Linked DNA regions of Homo sapiens: region 1 is linked to region 2. Evidence: promoter capture Hi-C in 16 types of primary human blood cells and fetal thymus (Javierre and others, 2016). All regions are on one chromosome and are shown on one strand. The core of a region is centred on a gene start or on the middle of the fragment in contact, and the rest is flanking DNA. Distances in the headings are between cores, read along the strand shown. Region 1 holds the start of LOC124901119 (a long non-coding RNA gene). Region 2 holds the start of GALNT10 (polypeptide N-acetylgalactosaminyltransferase 10).

What was found. The method cuts DNA at HindIII sites, captures the fragments that hold promoters and counts their contacts. A CHiCAGO score of 5 or more calls a contact.
Region 1: a fragment that was not itself captured here is called in contact with the fragment with the promoter of GALNT10 in region 2 in 1 of 17 cell types (total B cells); the score reaches 6.4 in total B cells.

Annotation. Positions count from the first base shown.
Region 1 is chr5:154,877,433-154,880,132 of GRCh38, forward strand. LOC124901119 (a long non-coding RNA gene) reads left to right here and starts at 1,327. Exons shown (of 2, transcript XR_007059011.1): 1 at 1,327-1,660. The HindIII fragment of the contact is 3,573 bases long and covers 1-2,700 here.
Region 2 is chr5:154,189,206-154,192,288 of GRCh38, forward strand. It overlaps GALNT10 (polypeptide N-acetylgalactosaminyltransferase 10), which reads left to right and starts at 1,528. Exons shown (of 12, transcript NM_198321.4): 1 at 1,528-1,820. The coding sequence starts at 1,662. It overlaps LOC124901118 (a long non-coding RNA gene), which reads right to left and starts at 874. Exons shown (of 2, transcript XR_007059010.1): 1 at 791-874. RefSeq lists an enhancer at 1-903 and silencers at 1,124-1,213, 1,304-1,403, 1,414-1,523, 1,614-1,693, 1,764-1,823. The HindIII fragment of the contact is 10,101 bases long and covers 1-2,434 here.

The DNA of each region.
Region 1 (2,700 bases), core at 65-2,564, 690 kb after region 2:
TGAGGAACTCAGTGTTGAGTGTGGGGTTTGGTCATCATTGCATGTGAGAGTTAAGAGCTTAGAGTAGTGCTTTAGCAAGAAAGAGCACAAGTCTTGGAACTGGCAAGAACTTTGTGTGTATGAGTGCATATAGGTCTATGTGAATGCTCATCCTCAAAAAGTGATGGCACTGTAGGGTAACCAAGAGAATCACTTAAGGTGTAATTCTTTCGAGGTTTAGACAGGGTCTCACTCGGTCATCCAGGCTGGAGTGCAGTGGCATGATCTTAGCTCACTGCACCCTCACCCTCCTGAGTAGCTGGGACTACAGGTGCATGCTACCATGTCCAGCTAATGTTTATATTTTTTTAGTAGAGATGGGGTTTCACCATGTTGGGCAAGCTGGTCTCAAACTCCTGACCTCAAGTGATTTGCCTGCCTTGGCCTCCCAAAGTGCTTACAGTCATGAGCCACCGTGCTGGCTTGTAATTCTTTTTTTTTTTTTTTTTTTTTTTTTTTTTGAGACAGAGTCTTGTTCTGTCGCCCAGGCTGGAGTGCAGTGGCATGATCTTGGCTCACTGCAACCTCCGCCTCCCAGGTTCAAGCAATTCTCCTGCCTCAGCCTCCCAAATAGCTGGTGCCAGAAACAGTCAGTTCCTCTTCAAACTTCTTTGTTTCTTTTAGCGACTAATGTCATTTCACATTGCTAGAAGATACATTCTTGTTCTCTAAACAAGCCTTTCCATCTTTGCCATGCCTAAACATGCCCAAACATGCCTTAACGGACAATCCCTCCCTCCCCTCCTTTCTTTTCTTTACAAGTTACGCATTTAGGCTGGGCACAGTGGCTCACGCTTGTAATCCCAGCACTTTGGGAGGCCAAGGCGGGTGGATCATGAGGTCAGGAGATTGAGACCATCCTGGCTAACACAGTGAAACCCTGTCTCTACTAAAAACACAAAAAATTAGCCGGGCATGGTGGTGGGCACCTGTAGTCCCAGCTACTTGGGAGGCTGAGGCAGGAGAATGGCGTGAACCCAGGAGGTGGAGGTTGCAGTGACCCAAGATCGCGCCACTGCACTCCAGCCTGGGCAACAGAGACAGTCTCAAAAAAAACAAAAAACAAAACAAAAAAAAAACAACAAGTTACGCATTTAAATGTTTCAGTTTACTCTGTTTGGAAAAGTTTTACCACTCCTACCCCTTCTTCCCCATCTACCCTATTTGGAAAAATTTCAAGTTTTAGCCAATCGGGTTAGCTTACATTGTGTGGTCCGACTACAGCCAATGGGGAAAGGACACAGAAACAGAAGCTGCATTAGGGATAAAAACTTTTCTCCTTTGTTCAGTGTGCTCTTGCGATCATGACTGTTGCAGGCAGCACCCTTCTCAGAAGTAAATTTGCCTTGCTGAGAAGTCTTTTGAGAGCTCATTTTCTTTGCAACTCCGAGCTCTTATTTCCAACTATTTGGGGGCTCATCTGGCATCCCATTCTCCTCTAGGGAAGGGTCTCTGATCACCTCTCATGAGGAGATGCGTCCTGCTGCCTCATTGCAATGGCCTCAGGAATAAGGAATCAAGACCCACCTGGTGTGACGAATAAACCTGGACTCTCAGCAATGAAGGAAGAAAAGTCCTACAAATACTGTGGCGACCAGGTAACTCCTCTGCACACACCAAGGTAAGAAAAGCTGCGGGGGCGGTGAAGTACTTCTTTGGTGGTCAGGACATCCTGGAGGTTGAAAGTGTGTGAATAAGATGCACAGTTGAGTGCAAAGCAAGTGTGCAGTCCGGATCTGTGGTTCCACGGTCACCTCATATGGCTTAGGGCAGCTTTCCTGTCATGAGGCTTATACCGACCCGCCAATGCTAAGAGGGACCCAAATTCCCATAAGGGAAGTGGCCGGAGAAGGATGAAACAAAAGTAGGGGAGTGCAAGAAACCTCCAGTGGCAGGGGAGGGGTTGAACCTTCAGGGAAAAGGGGGCAAGAAATCTCTCATAAAAGAGGTTGAGCCACACAGACTCAGGAAACTCAGGGAAACACCTAAAACTTCCAGAATGGGAAATACCTCAAGCAGGACAGGAAATAAGAAGGATAAGACAGACAATAAAATTCCCTCTGATAGCCCTCTAGGTCTCATGTTAACATACTGGAAGGATAATGAAAGGACCAAACACAAGAAAAAGCAACAAACGATAAAATATTGCTGTTTTATTTGGACCAAAAAACCTATCCTCAAACCTTCAGTCTTTTGGCCAAAAGTTTCGATCTAGTGAGGATTGGATTTGTCAGCTTTTAATAGGGTATGTCAATAACAAAAGTCCTGTCTCCCAGGAGGAAATAGACTATGCCCTGTGTTGGTGGTGGGGGCCTGTCCTCTGTTCCCTAAAGGATACGGGGGACAAGCCAGAAGCTACTTCTTCTCAAGAAATTAATATCCCTCATCCCAAAAAGTCAACCAACACGTGGGACCCCTTAGACCACCTTCCCCCACCAAACACCACTAACTTCCCTCCCCCTCCAGTAGCTGCAACTGCCCCAGACCCTTCCCCAGCTCACTTTGTTTCTTCCCCTTATAATCCTGACTTGGGGTCTCCCTAGCCTGAATGCCCTTCCCCAGGAAGACTTCAACGTGAGATAGAACAGTGTAAAAAAGATATCCAAAACTTTCCTTTCCCCACTACCTCGAGAATCTGCTCCAACGATCTTTCCCTTAAGG
Region 2 (3,083 bases), core at 278-2,777:
AAGAAGGAAAACACAAAGCCTGCAACAGGCTAAGCGAAGCTCAGGGCAGGGCAGGGCAGGGCACGGCAGGAGACAGAACGTTTGATCAGCCCTAGCAGGTCATAGGAGAGGAGCATGATGGACTCTAGAGCCGAGGTGATGGAAGCCTTGAAGGTTTTGCTGCAGAAATCAAGAACTGAGCTGTGATGTCAGAAAACTGAATCCCCATCGCTCAGCCTGGAGCTGGAAGAACTTGGAGGCAAGAGTTGCCAGAACGCTGGTCAAGGACTAGTGGCAGCTAGGCACGAAGGTCAGCGGCTGAGCTAGAGAAGCAGAGAATCAAGAGGACGAATGTGGGGGTGGCAGAGAGTAAGGTAGCCAAGGGGGTGCTCCGTTCCACCGCATCAGGGAGGAGGCAGCTAAGTGACCAGCGTCGAGCGCCCCGAGGAGGAGCCGCTGGCTGGCATCACCGTCGGAGTCCGGCTCCACGGCCCTCCGCATCGCCCAGAAGCCCGACTCCTCTGTCAAAGCCCTCGCCACAGTTACAGACACATTGCCTGGTCTAGTGAAATTACGTGTTTCATGTTTCAGCTCCCAGACGTCAGGGCTCAGGTCTGTTTTCATTTCATCCCAGAGCCTGGCACAGTGTTTGGCACATAGTGGCGCTCGCCAACGGTTTGCTGAGAGCTTTCCGGGAAGGGCTCAGTGCGCTTAGGATCCAAAAGCACGCGTGAGAATGCAGGGCATTCTAACTCCAAGGGGGTTGGACTTGCGTGAGGAAAGGTGCTGCAGAGAGGCTACCGTCACTTACCCACCCGCCGGTTTGCAGGATCTACAGACGGGCGGCGGCCGGGCACAGCTCCCTACAGTTTGCAGAGGGCGTTCACACCTAACGCCAGGGCCCCCCTAGAGGAAGAAAACCAGGGCCCGCCCGCGGAACAGTGAGCGTGCAGCACGGCTGTGGCCCCGTTTCATGGCCGGGAACACCGAGTCGCCGGGGTCAAAGTAGGTCCGCAGGTCCTGGGGGCCGAGCCTAGGTGGGCTGGAAGTGACAGCCCCGGGGGCTCCAGGCTCAGAACGCCCGGCGGGGCCCCAGCACTATTTGCATATCCCCAGGGAGGCAGCAAAGGTTCGGCTGCAGTCCCGGGCGGAGGTTGCCGGGCGGGGCGGCAGGGTACCCGGGCGAGCGGACATGCACCCCACCCAGCGGTGCCCAGCCCGCACCAGTTAGCGCCCAACTCGCCAACTCCGGGACTTTCGCAAAGCTCCAGAGGGCGGGGGAGCCGCCGAGGAGTGGGACGGACCATCGCGGCTCGAGAGGGGGGAAGCGCTCCGGCCCGGCATCCTGCAGCGCCCGGGCGGGCCGAGACGCTCCGTGAGAGGGCCGAGCCTGCAGCGCAGAGACTCGGCGGTCGACGCGGGGGCAGGCGGCGCGGGGCGGGCGGCTCGGCGGGGCCCGGGGGCGGTGGCGGCGGCGACGACCCCCTCGTGGCGGCGGCGTGGTGGCGGCGCCCAGCTCCCCGGCCGGCGAGCGGCGGAAGTGCCGCGGAGTTGGAGCGGGGCCGGCGCCGCAGCCGCTTCTGCTGGCTGAGCTGCTGCCGCCGCCGGGCGGACGGGCGGACGCGCGGAGCTGGGGGCGGCGCGGCGGGGCCGGCGGGGCGCGGCGGGGCTGACCGGCCCCGATGAGGCGGAAGGAGAAGCGGCTCCTGCAGGCGGTGGCGCTGGTGCTGGCGGCCCTGGTCCTCCTGCCCAACGTGGGGCTTTGGGCGCTGTACCGCGAGCGGCAGCCCGACGGCACCCCTGGGGGATCGGGGGCGGCGGTGGCGCCGGCGGCGGGACAGGTGAGTCCCCCCGTTGCTACAGGCCGGGAACACCCCCTTCCCGAATTCACTTTTAGCCTGTGGTTCCTTCCTCCACCTTCTGCTGTCTGCCTCCTCAGAGTCAGCTCCGAGACTCTTCAGCTCTTCCCATTTTCCGGATGGGAAAATTAAGTCCTGTCGGGACTTGTCCAGGGTCCCACGCCAGTCAGAGACTGAGTCCGAACTAGCACTCAGGACGCTATTTCTCACCACATGTTACCACCTTCCTTTCTGTCCCCGTCTGGTATTCCTTGACGTCTTCCAGCGGATCTCTTTTGAAGGATCCTATCTGCATCCCTGTATCCCAGGATGACTCCTGCCTTGTGCCAATAGGAATGAAGATTCTGGTTCTTCTATTTGGTGTCCAGGTCCTCTCTGCTTCCCTCCTCCCACCCCCCCCCCCCCACAACCCCTACCTGCTGATCCCAGTGTTCTTTGCTCAGGTCAGCCCTTTTCCTGATTTCTCATCTGCCCAACGAGACACCCGGGCCTTCCTCCTCTCCCCATTTATTCAACACCCCCGCCCCAACTCTAGCCTTTTCCTTTCTCAGATCCTGTGGATTCCTTGCAGAATGTAAAGATCATGCTCCCTTTAAAGCTTCAAGCCCCTGGGGGTGGAGAAGGGGGTAAGCTCCTGGTCCTTGAGGGACCTGCTGCCTTTGACCTTATGGGAGTCCAGAGGTGGGGCTCTGGTGGGGGGACCCCCAAAATGTCCCAGAGGCTATTGGTGCCCAGTGTCCTGAGGATGGAACACCAGAAGCCTTCCCTATCTCTTCTGAACTTGTCTAGTCTGGTTAGTTGTAGTGTTTATTGCAGCCAAAACTGGGATCGGAATGGTTTCTGCCTCCTTTGAACTTACCCACGTATGTTTGTGTGTATGTGTGCGTGCACGCATTTAGACTAGCAGCTCCCTCATAGCAGAAGCTCTGTCACATCACTCCCACCCTCCCAGGAGGTGCTAGTGAGTGTATTGCTTAGACTGTTTCATATAGTGGAACATTTCAGGCTTTCTTACGGGATTTCTCTGGTCCCATGAGAAGTGGATAATTTGTGTATCAGGGTCAGACTTGACTGACTGTTGGCTGGCCTCGACGAAAGAGGCTGGCTTTTCTGAGATTGATGGTTTTCCTTATTCTTCCCAGTATCAGGCTGCTGTCTAGGCAGTCTGGCATCTGGAGCACAGAGGGCTCTTTGCTACAGAGCTGACCAATTTGAGCTCCGCCTGTAACTCTGTTAATTGCTGCA